3 separate regions of the Homo sapiens genome follow, and all the other regions are linked to region 3. The links are contacts of gene promoters, found by promoter capture Hi-C in blood cells and fetal thymus (Javierre and others, 2016). All regions are on one chromosome and are shown on one strand. Each heading gives the region's core, a stretch centred on a gene start or on the middle of the fragment in contact. The rest is flanking DNA. Distances are from core to core; before and after follow the strand shown.

Region 1 (3,869 bases), core at 756-3,255, 700 kb after region 3:
ACGAGAGAGATCAGCTACTGTTTAGGCTGAGCCAGAAAGGCCCTTCTCTCCTTCCTAGAGTGTCAGAGCATCCCAGAACATCACTTGCTTTCTAGGACTGCATAGGCAGGTGATAGCTCAGAATACTGGCGTGAGCCACTCGGAGCCAGAGTGTAATGAAGAGTACAGGTAAAAAGTGCATGTTGGCAGCACTTTGATAAATCCATGAGGACACAGACCACCACGCAGTTTAGGAAAGAATGAATCTGAAATATGTGGAAGGTGAAAGCTCTGTAAAGCAAGGAGTTTCTAACCAATAAAGTAAAGAAAAATCAAATCAACGGCAGAGTGAAATGCAATGTGATCAGGTTTGTCGATGGCATTTCATAAACCTGTGAAAAGAAGGCTCTTTAGGGGAGAACAGTAATTGAGCACAGGCACCCTGATGTAGAAGTGAGCCAAGGAAGCAAAACATGCAGGCGGTTGGGCCTGTTTCCTATGCGTGTTTCCTAAGAGATACCCAAGAAAACTGAACTTATGAAAGGCATGTTCCACTGAAACAATACCCAAAAGGTCCAGGTTCTGTGGGATTGGACTGATTACTCTTCATTTATGGGGATCATGACCTATAATTTTTTCCTGTGTTTGTGAATGGATGAGTAGCCTCGGCATTGAATTCAATGATTCACAAAAGTGTAAAAAAAAAATCGTGCCTGTGACAGACTGTAGGTAAGTTTGCTCTTGTCCTCCCTCACTGCAAAGTGTCACATTTCTAAAAACTTCCCTCTCTTTTCATCTGACAGTGAGACAATGGATATCCATAGAAACCCTCAGAGCATCTTCAATATTTTCCAGCAATATCGGAACTTGGTGCAAATCACTGCGCCTACAGATTTTGATGTAGCTACTTAGATCAAGAAAAAGATTCCAATTTTGGCCATTTTCAAAGTAGAGAACCTAAAATAATATAATTATTTTTATTTTTCTATATTTTTTCCTCCTTCAGAAAACATAGAGGCAGGTACTGATGCCTCAGCTGTGTGGGTTCTGTGTAAATGTAGAAGGATTTTGTGGGGCTTGTGTGGAAGGACAATATAGTTGGTTTCTGGGCCTGTTCTTACCTTGTTGTAAGACTGACTTGCCAGGGCCAGGAATGTGGGTGGGCCACACAACCCCCTACAATGCTTCTGGGACATTTCTTTGGCTCCACTTGAGGCTTCCCACAATCAAATGAAGAGGATGCTGTGGCACAAGGTGGGAAAGAAGTCGCATTTGAGTCCAAGTTGGCAATTTTGTCAATTAATTTAGGACAAATTCCAAGCACTGAGTTTTTGATATTTCAAAGGTGAAATTAAACAGTAAAATTATAAACAACTTTTAGATTTTTTTTCTAGGTTTCAAAAGTGGTAGTAAACAACACAGGATGCTCTCCTTTCAAGGAAATATAAGCGCTTTCTAATTATTTTGTTGGAGAAGTGATCAAAGAAATTGGTATAGTTCAGCATTAGAATGAGATCTTTTCTGAGAAGACCTTGATTGGCACAAATAGTTATTCGTCATTGTTATTCCGAACAATGTTTAGAACATGATGTCATCCTTCCCATCATCATCCTCATCACCATCCCCATCTAACCCACATAAAGTTTACAGAAAGGCATGAAGGTTTCTTTTGCATGTGAGTCTGTGTGTGCACGTGTGTGTGTGTGTGTATGTGTGTGTGTGATTGTATGTAGCAAGGATTACTGTCCTAAGTTGAAATGTTGCCTTCTCTCAGCCAGCTTCAGGACAGCTCCTCTGGGGAGCCTCCCATGACTAACTGACTGTCATTGGGGTGACTTACACACATGTGCCTTTATTTTTCTTTTACCTCCTCTCTGCCTTCTCTCTGCAGCCAGCCTGCAAGATCTCTGGAGGTAGGAACAGTGTCCCATCTTTGGTACCACCCATCAATGCCTACAACAGTGCATAGGCTACAGAGGGTGTTCAAAAATGCTTCTCTGTCTCCAGTCCTTCAAGGTCTTCAAAATTATAAACATTAATATAGTTAATAATATTCACATAATTATTAATAACAACTGCAAGAGGAATTTCCTCCCCAACCAACCAGAGATTCTACACTCCAGTGAATTTGGAACCTGAGTTTTCCAAATAACTGTCCATTTGCCATGGGCTGTTCTGAGAATCTATCTATATAAGTCTTTTTTTTTTTTAAAGAAACATTGCATGGAATGAAATCATCTTCCCTAGTGCTGAACTCAATTTCTGCTAATATGCCTTACACACAGTATACATGCATCATTGTACTAAAAGAGTAACTACAGAAATTATGGTACCTGCTCCTACTATTTAAAATAAAACTGAATGTTTCTATTTATTTTTACTTATTATTTATACTGAATGTCTTAGTGGAAATGAACTAGCTATTAAAATCATTCTCCACCAGAGTCTCTAGATTTCTCAAGCATGAGTCAAACCTGAATAAACCACATCCTTCTGCAGGAAACCAAACCCACCAACCACATCCTTCTGTAGGAAACAGTTCTGAGGATTTCCAAGTGTCTTATGGGAACCCTTCTCACAAGGCTTGGGGTTAACCTCACTTGTCTTACATCAAGGTTAGGTGGGGGACCTCACAGTCCATTGGGAAAAATCTTGCTCCCATTCTTCCTTCTTTCTCCAATCTTTAAGAACTCGATTCTCATACAACCTTTATGTGGGTGAGGACAGCAGAAATGCACCTGGGAAGCTACTGCACTTTCCTACCATAGGAGTCAAAGGTGCATGAGTCCCAGGCACAGTAGTGGGGTCTGAGGCAAGAAAGTCAGTGTGGGCTCAACTTCAAGGCAGCCTGTCAAGGATAGAGAGCCCAGGCAGTGAGAGGCAGTGGCATGTACCAGACGGGGCCAGAAGTGGAGAACTGGAACTGACCCCATCGAGGGACTTTCAGGTAGAGGAGCCACCAAGATGCTTCTGCAGAACAAACAAAAACACCCACTCAAGGAAAAGGTCAGCTATCAACTCACACTAAATCCAGAGACCACAATGCCACAATACAATAATATTGGCCAAGTAGAATCTTTACTATCACCCTAACCTCTCATTCTTCCCTCTTGCTCTCCCCAGGAGTGTCCCAAATGCGAAGCTGGGCAGTGTGGCTCCCATAATCTTCATCACTGCCCTGTACCGCCTCCCCAGGAAATCTTGGAATGGTGGTCTTCAGTGGACTTGGAGGCCAAGCTGCTTCCCCCAGCTCAAGGTTCTTCCACATGGCAGACCCAACCACAAGCAACCAAATTATACAAATGAAAAGTCCAGGACAGCTTTCTGTAACTAGGACAGACAAGTTGATTGGTCAGCAGAAAGTAAAATAGGGGACAAGTCCAAGTGGCTTTTTGTTTTTTCAGAAATACCCATGGATTTGTTATCCCAGTTGTTTAAGATCTAATGTCAACTCCACTTACCCTGATCCAAGCCTCATACTCCCAACAAGAGTCTTGGAGCAATGAAGAGGGAACCCAACAAACAGTCTCTAAGCAATGATGCTAATGTGAATCGTGAGGAATAATCTTAGGAGAAAGGCCATTTGGGGCTAAAGAGCTGCACTACCCTTCACTGAATTCCTAGGATGGCCATCTGTAGGTTTACAATGTGCACCACATGCTTAGCTGTGCCCTGCTGTTCGTATATTTTTCATACTTCTCAGCTGCAGAAGAGAAAGGTTTTTTATCCGAATGACTGTAAATTTCTTTTTCATGCATCCCATGCTAGACACTGAAGTGCTCAGTGGGACCACCCTGGGGCTGATTAGATCACCTCTAAGTGTGCTCTTTGGGAATTTTACATTTATTTTATTTATGTGTGTGTGGTGGGAGGGGCGGGTGTTTCCCTAA
Region 2 (3,728 bases), core at 359-2,858, 590 kb before region 3:
CCCCCCTGCCAGCCGCAAGCACCCAGCCCCGGCCCACCCCGGGCTCTCGATGGCCCCCGAGGCCGGGGCGACCCTGCGCGCGCCGCGCCGGCTGTCCTGGGCGGCGCTGCTGCTCTTGGCCGCGCTGCTCCCCGTCGCCTCCTCGGCGGCGGCCTCAGGTACGCGCCGCGCCCGGGCCCCCGGCGCTCCTCAGCTCCCCGCGCACCCTCCTGCGCTCGGGCCCCGTCGTCCCGCTCAGTGCTGGCTACGGGTCGTGTCACTAGCCTGTGCGTCCTCGTCACTCGCGGGTCGGGGCACTTGGCGCCCTGTGTGGGTGGCGGGAGCGGGGACGCCTCGGTGCCCGGGGACCGCAGCGCGCTGGCGTTTAACTTTGCCGTCGCCCGCCTTGGAGTCGGGAGGCTCCAGCCGTCTAAGTGTCCCGGGAGATTCAGGCACAGCGGGGAAAAAAGGAAAAGAAAGGCGACTTTCAGCGTGCGGACTGGGGTAATGCCTTTCTTTGCCCAGAATTTCTCGGGAGCGTAGGTGGTCATCCTACTTTCTCCGCGTTCACCTCTCGCGAGGCAGGATGACGGGCGCACTCGGGAGACCGGAGGGAGGCAGAGCAGGGCTGTTCTAGAAGGTCGTGGGGGAAAGGCTGCGAGCTGCCGCAGGGCGTCGGGTGCCTCTGCGCTCCAGAGGAGAAGCGCTCCAGTGCCAGCTCGGCTCCAGGCGGCAGGAGGCCCGCGCGCCCGGGGGGAACGTTCAAGCTGGGAGAAAATGTTTGTCTTGAGAGGAGGGAGAGGGAAATGAGAAAGCTGATTCCAGAGAAACTCGCCCTTCCCCAATGGCTGAGGCTGCAGCCAGGATGGATGCTTCCTTTGAGAGCAATGCTTTTCAGAAAATGCTAGCGCGCTCCTGTCAGATTTCTTGCAAGCTTCCTGCAGAGAGAGACAAGTTTGTGGCGAGGTTTTCATTCCTAAGCCTTTGGCGGCCCTTGTTACCACCTCCTTTGCAGGCATTTTTACACTTGAAACTGGCTTTTAGGTTATTGGTTTGTAGAAATCCAAGAAGCAGACAATGATCGTCAGATACTATTCCAACGAGGGTACCAGTTTTATGATGCTATTTAGTGTATATATTGTTCTCTTACTTCAGGGGTAAAGGAAGAAAAGTTGGGGATCACATTACTTTGTGACTTTTTGGTAGATACATCATCCCAATGCTTGGCTCAGGTTTATGCGAGGTATTCTGATGCCAATGCCACTTTCTCATAAAAGGCAGTGCCTGCCGTAGGGTCTTTTTCTTCCCATTAGTGAACTCTAGGAAAGTATTCACTGAATACTTTGCACAGTACTTGAGAGGAATAAAACTAAATAAAGTCTTCCAACTTCCCCACCTACAACTCCTGGCTTTTGTTTTTCTAAGTGAAAATTTTCAGAGTGCTGGAAGAGTTTTTGTTTCTGAAAATGATCTGAAACTGGAACCAGTGCTGCCCTGGCTTTGTGGCGATTCCAGCCTTCTGCTTTTCCGATTCCTCTGCCACCTGCCCGTGGGTTGCATGTGAGTGGGTCCGAGCGGGGTTGTTTGTGAGAGCTCCTGGAATCCCACCGCGATCTGCACTCTTGCTTTTTCGCCTTCTGCTCTGTGAATCACTGTGCTGAGGAATGCTGGGGCTGGACAGCTTCCCAGCCCTTCTCTCTACTGTGTTGACGTGGGATCTACAGTCAAATGATGACCAGACTAGAGGTGGACAAAGGAGGACAGGCACATTTCAGAATGAAATCTACTAAATTTAAATTAAGTAATAGAAGGATAGAAACAGACATAGCAACCTGTAGATAGCTCCCCATGCTGTGGATGAAATTATGGGGTACATAACTTCTTTCATGGGCTCCCTTTGACAGCAACGTCATGGATAGACTGCTCCCTCTCTCTGGTTGAACTAATGCATGGACCAAGCGAGCTGCTTGTGTCAAGCTCTCCCCTTCACCACCCTTTTGGGGCCAGAATCTCTGTAAGGAAATTACCCACGGCCACATAATAGTGGCTCCGAGGGACTTTGCTTAAAGCAGGACACACTGAAGATCTGGATAAGCCCTTCAGTGTAGGGTCAATTAAACATAAAACAAAATAAGCAAGCAGTGTCCCCTCCTCCACTCATATTCATCCCTACAATAGGATACTATGCAAACATTAAAATTATGATGGCCTTGCCAGTCTGGTATGATACATTTTTCTAAACACATGTGGATGTACTCACACATGCACATATTTGCAGTGGGTATCTTAGGATGGTTAGGGATGATTTTTATTTTCTTCTTTAAAGAAGCTTTTAGGGAATTTTCCATGTCAAAACTATTTTCAAAGTAATACTAAGATTACTAAGATGCTATTTTCCTTTTTCACAGTTGACATTTGCACTGAGGGTGCAAAAGCTTGATGGGTAAACTGCGGGTGTCTTACTGAGAATCAAGGCAGGGACATCACCATGCACTAGTAGTCTTTGAATTTTGGGGGGACTTTGCAGTTAAAAAAAATTTGCCAGTTTCATTAAGAATGTTCTTGATGCCACAGTAAAATTATTAATTTTACCAAATCTTTGTATCTTTGAGTGTATGTCTTTTTAATAGTGTAAATAAATGGGAAGGACACATAAGTTACTACTGCTGATGACCAAGTTCAGTGGCAACCCCAGGGGGAAGCACTGGTGTGATTGTTTGTGTTATGCATTAAGCTAGCTGGTTTTTTAAAATGGAATGTGGTATTTACCACAAAGAATGACAACAGACAAACTAGAGCTATTCTGACTTGGGTATTTGGCCGATGTTTTCTCAAAAATGAACAAAGGGAACTTGCTACTTCTAGTAAAATAACTGCTATTATTGCTTGCCAATGATAACATTTCAGCTTTCAAGTGAAAATCAGAATTTTGCCAAGTTGTTTCCACCACTGTAAGCTTGAAAGTTTCCCAATATTTAAATTTTTTTCTAGTGAGATCAATGGTGATATAAATGAATGTGATTTGTAAATGTCATCTCATAAAATGTGTCAACATTTGGATGATCTGCATAACCAAATAAACCAATAGATCCAAATGACCAGTGTATAGCCTTACAACAATCTTGCATGGGTAAAAGGTCTGTTCAAAGTGCATGATAGCCCAATGGATTTTTAATGTAACAAAATATGAAAAATTCTTCATATGATTTCAGATTCTAAGAATTGGCTACTTGATGAATTTTGGTGTAATATCAAAGATTTTTCAAAATTATCCAAAAAGGCTATTGAAATAGTTGTCCAGCTACACATCTGTGTGAGGCTGGGTTTTCTCCAAGCAAAACGACATATTGCAATAGATTGAATGCATAAGCAGATCGGAGATATTCTATTAAAAAGATTTGCCAAAATGTAGAAACAAAGCTGCTCTTCTCACTCATTTCTCTTTGTTTTGGGAAACAGTTACTTTTCATATAAATATATTTGTATGTCAACATGTAATGGTTTATTATTGTTTTTTAAAATAAATAAGTACATATTTTCGTTTTAATTCCCAGTAAAGTCAATAAGGATAGATAAAACTCACAGAAACATAACCTCCTTGGCATCCTCGTAAATTTAAGAATAGAAGATAATTCAGACACCAAAATGTTTGAGACACACTGGTATATACGGAGGGAAGTAGGTTAAAAATCAGGATGCCTGGGTGTGAGTGGCAGTGCTGTCCTGCACCTCTGGGGGCCTTGGGCTAG
Region 3 (4,011 bases), core at 22-2,521:
GGCCAGGGAGTAAGGGGAAAATGGGATAGAATAGAGCAAAAGCCACGGGAGGCATTCCTTGAATTCCTTGGACTCAGATATGTTAGGGGACAGGAAACACATTGAAGACAACTGAAGAGACTTCAGTGTGCTGCTGAGTTCTTAGCAGAGTAGACAGCTGATTTCACCACTATTCCAGACCCTAAAGATTTCTCCTGAAATTGCACTGTTATGCAATTTTTTTCCTTCTCTATTGCCCCACCTCTGGGGCCTACACTCTTTACCTTCTCTGATTTATCTGACCCATCCGCATATCTCTGCAAAGTCTTAATGTAGGTTTCCAGGATTTAATGATTCTTTCAATCAACTTTAAAGTTCTTCAGGAAGATTCTCCAGGTCCGTCAACAGTTTTCCCCTTCATGACTTTGTGACAAAGCTTTCTTGTTCCACTATCCAGGTGTTCCCAACAAGTTGCTGTAACGGTGGCCCCTCATAAGCTTGCCTGGAAACCCTAGAAAGCTCAGAAAAATTATGAACTTTGCCCAGTAAGAGGCTGGGAAGTCAGAAAGGGTTTTAAACAAAACTGACCCCACTTGTTACATGCTCCTTTCACTGTCCAAACGTCAACCAAAGGAACTTTTGTGACGCTAAGACGCTCCCGGCGTCCTCACCCGTTCACAGCCAGAGTTGATCTTAGAAGGCAGGGGGCTCGCACCGAGACGCTCCTAGCAAGCCCCTCACGCGAGCGAATGACTGGCGCCAGGAGAAACGCATAGGACCTCCCGAAGCCGCCGAGAGCAAAAGGACCCATCAGAGCTGTGCTGAGACCCGCCGCGGGCCGGGCTCGCACTCGAGATTCTCGCCCGTGGGATTCCAGTCCTGAGCTGAACGAGAGATAAGTCTTTGTCACCCCCCAGTCTTTACTGTTTCGAGAAACCCTAAGATTTTTTAAAAAAAAGCCCAAGACGTCAAGTCGGGGAACTCCAACATTGGGGTGTCCAGAAACACTGGGGTTTCAGGCGCTCTGTAAATGCGTCCGAGGTCCGCGGTTCTGCCCGCAAGCCCAGACCCCGGCCTCACTTCCGCCCCGCGCCCCGCGCCCCGGCCTCACTTCCGCCCCGCGCCCCGCGCCCCGCGCCCCGCGCGCCTCCGCCCGCCCCTGCTCCGGCCTTGCGCCTGCGCACAGTGGGATGCGCGGGGAGGTGGTGCGCGGGGAGGTGGAGGGCGAGGGGCGGGGCTACCTCAGGTCCCGCCCGCGGCAGGCCTGTGGGCTGCGAGGAGGAGCTTTGCCTAGCTTGCAGGCAGCGCAGGGCAGACGGCGGCAGGAGAAGCAAGATGAATGCAGGCTCAGATCCTGTGGTCATCGTCTCGGCGGCGCGGACCATCATAGGTGAGTGGCCGGCGGGAGCCGCGCAGAGTCCGAGGCGCCTGCTGCTTCGGCAGGAGCGCCGAGGGCCGGACTTGTGTAGGAGAGGGGCGTATGTGGAGGAAGCCGGTCAGGCCAAGCCGCGAGGAGCCGCGGGATCCCTGGAACCCTGCGGCTCCCGCGTTCCCTGACCTGGTGCTACAGCCCCACCCTCTCCTCTCCCGATGTGCGCACTCCGTCCCTCGTGCTTGGATTGGCTCCCGGGGTAGAGCCATCGCGTGGCCTGCCTCTCCCATTGGTTGGCGTAGGGAGGTGTTCTCCTCCGGGGCCCCTGATTGGCCGGCTCCGGGAGGCGCCATCGGTAATGCCTGCGGCAGGGGCGGAACTGCTAGGTGGTCTGAGCCCGGCTTTGGGCTGGGGTCGGGCTGTCACACAATGGCTAGAAGTCGTGACTTCGTCTCCTTCGTGCCGCATGGTTTTCAACGCCCTTGACCCGCCGGTTCCTTTTGTTTGGGAAGCATGGGGTCGCATCCAGTCCTTCGGATTTGGGGAAATAGAAGGGCTACAGCGGCGTCCCTAGGCCGTTCTGGAGGTCGCCTGTCCAGCCCTCGGCTGCTGCGAGTTGTGGCACCCACCTTGACCTTTGCTCAGACCAGCAGGTGTAGGAACGTGTGGGAGGAGAGGGCACTGCCTCCTCGCGTGGCCTTGCCAAACAGGGTCATGAGGCTCCCCTGCTCGTAGGTGGTTCCCGTATTACCCGCAGGCTTGTGATGTCCACGCTCTCCGCCTTTCTATTGTAGGTTCCTTCAATGGTGCCTTAGCTGCTGTTCCTGTCCAGGACCTGGGCTCCACTGTCATCAAAGAAGTCTTGAAGAGGGCCACTGTGGCTCCGGAAGATGTGTCTGAGGTCATCTTTGGACATGTCTTGGCAGCAGGTAAGTCTCAGTGATTCCAGGAGAAGTCAGGCTTATTAGAAACAGCCCATAAACACACACACACACACACACTCTCACACACTCACACACTCTCTCACTCACTCAAGTTCTTGCCTCCTTGCTTTTGCTCAGAGTTCCCTCTGTTATGATTCCTCCTGTTGGCCCCCTTCTTCCAGCCCTGTCAGTAGCTTCTATCCAGCTTGAGACTCAGCTTCTTGGCCAGGCAGGGTGGCTCCCGCCTGTAATCCCAGCACTTTGGGAGGCGGAGGAGGAAGGATCACTTGAGTCCAGAAGTTTGAGACTAGCCTGGGCAACAAAGCAAGACCCCGTCTCTACAAAAAATAAAATAGCCAGGTATGATGGCCTGTGCCTCCCAGCTACTGGAGAGGCTGAGGTGGGAGGATCACTTGAGCCCAGGAGTTTGAGACTGCAGTGATTGTGTCACTGCACTCCGTCATGGGTGACAGAGTGAGACCCCTTCTCTAAACAAACAAAAAGACTTAGCTTCATTAATATGCTTTTTGTGAATGAACTTAGACCACTGACCTACACCACCTACACTGCCTTTTCTTTTCCTTTTTTTTTTTTTTTTTTTTTTTTTTTTGAGACGGAGTCTCTCTCTGTGGCCCAGGCTGGAGTGCAGTGGCGTGATCTCGGCTCACTGCAAGCTCCGTCTCCCGGTTTCACGCCATTCTCCTGCCTCAGCCTCCCGAGTAGCTGGGACTACAGGCGGCCCACTGCCTTTTCATTCTTACGAAGCAGGGCCGGCCGGGCCCGGTGGCTCACGCCTGTAATCCCAGCACTCTGGGAGGCCGAGGTGGGCGGATCATGAGGTCAGGAGATCAAGACCATCCTGGCTGACACGGTGAAACCCCGTTTCTACTAAAAATACAAAAAATTAGCCGGGTGTGGTGGCGGGCGCCTGTATTCCCAGCTACTTGGGAGGCTGAGACAGGAGAATGGCGTGAACCCGGGAGGCGGAGCTTGCAGTGAGCTGAGATTGTGCCACTGCACTCCATTCAGCCTGGGCAACAGAGTGAGACTCCTTTTAAAAAGAAGAAGAAGAAGCAGCAGCAGGGCCAGCCTGACGCATAGGAAAGTATGCCTGCTCCTCCTTACTACCTCAAAGTGTCACTCATTCAACAAAAATGTATTCAGTTCCTCCTATGTGCCCCATACTGTGCTTAGTGCTGGGAGTATGGTTCCAACAATACAGGTAAGTTCCCTGCCCTCTTAGGGCTCAGTTCTGAGCTTGGAAAATAGGTGCCACATCATGCCCCTTGCAAATGGGGCATATCACTCCCCAGAGGAATATAGCTGAGTCCTGAGAGTGCCCCCATCTTCTGATTCTTTGGGTTTGAACACTCGTAATTAATTAATTAATTATTATTATTATTATTTAAAGAGACAGGGTCTCACTCTGTTGTCCAGGCTGGAATGCAGTGGTGTAATCAATCGTAGCCCACTATAACCTCAAACTCCTGGGCTCCACGGTATCCTCCCACCTCAGCCTCTGGAGTAGCTGGGATTACAGGAGCAGGCCACCACACCTGGCTAATTTTTTAAATTTTTTTGTAGAAGTGGAGTCTGTCTGTTGCCTGGGCGTGAGTGCAATGGCTGTTCACAGGCACAATCATGGTGCACCATGCCCTTGAACTTCTGAGCTAGCTGGGACTACCGGTGCATGTCTACTAAGTTTAAGGCTTTTAAAGCACTGTGCTAAATGCTTTC

Evidence for each region. Contacts are between HindIII fragments. The CHiCAGO score rates a contact against its expected background, and 5 or more counts as called.
Region 1: a fragment that was not itself captured here is called in contact with the fragment with the promoter of ACAT2 in region 3 in 4 of 17 cell types (naive CD8 T cells, total CD4 T cells, total CD8 T cells and 1 more); the score reaches 8.2 in naive CD8 T cells.
Region 2: a contact is called between a fragment that was not itself captured here and the fragment with the promoter of ACAT2 in region 3, in 5 of 17 cell types (megakaryocytes, M1 macrophages, naive B cells and 2 more). The highest score is 14.1, in megakaryocytes.

Annotation. Positions count from the first base shown.
Region 1 is chr6:160,460,155-160,464,023 of GRCh38, forward strand. No RefSeq gene overlaps it. Among named protein-coding and RNA genes, the nearest start is that of SLC22A3, 110 kb to the left of the region's middle. RefSeq lists an enhancer at 2,784-2,833. The HindIII fragment of the contact is 8,063 bases long and covers 1-3,869 here.
Region 2 is chr6:159,169,548-159,173,275 of GRCh38, forward strand. It overlaps FNDC1 (fibronectin type III domain containing 1), which reads left to right. Exons shown (of 23, transcript NM_032532.3): 1 at 1-158. The coding sequence starts at 50. FNDC1-AS1 (FNDC1 antisense RNA 1) reads right to left here and starts at 460. Exons shown (of 4, transcript NR_121668.1): 1 at 265-460. RefSeq lists an enhancer at 708-1,207. The HindIII fragment of the contact is 1,395 bases long and covers 912-2,306 here.
Region 3 is chr6:159,760,774-159,764,784 of GRCh38, forward strand. It overlaps ACAT2 (acetyl-CoA acetyltransferase 2), which reads left to right and starts at 1,272. Exons shown (of 9, transcript NM_005891.3): 1 at 1,272-1,369; 2 at 2,146-2,280. The coding sequence starts at 1,315. SOD2-OT1 (SOD2 overlapping transcript 1) reads right to left here and starts at 1,559. Exons shown (of 2, transcript NR_037166.1): 1 at 1,221-1,559; 2 at 1-863. It also overlaps a transcript of SOD2 not described here. RefSeq lists enhancers at 525-584, 2,653-3,153 and silencers at 1,015-1,074, 1,095-1,244. The HindIII fragment of the contact is 5,525 bases long and covers 475-4,011 here.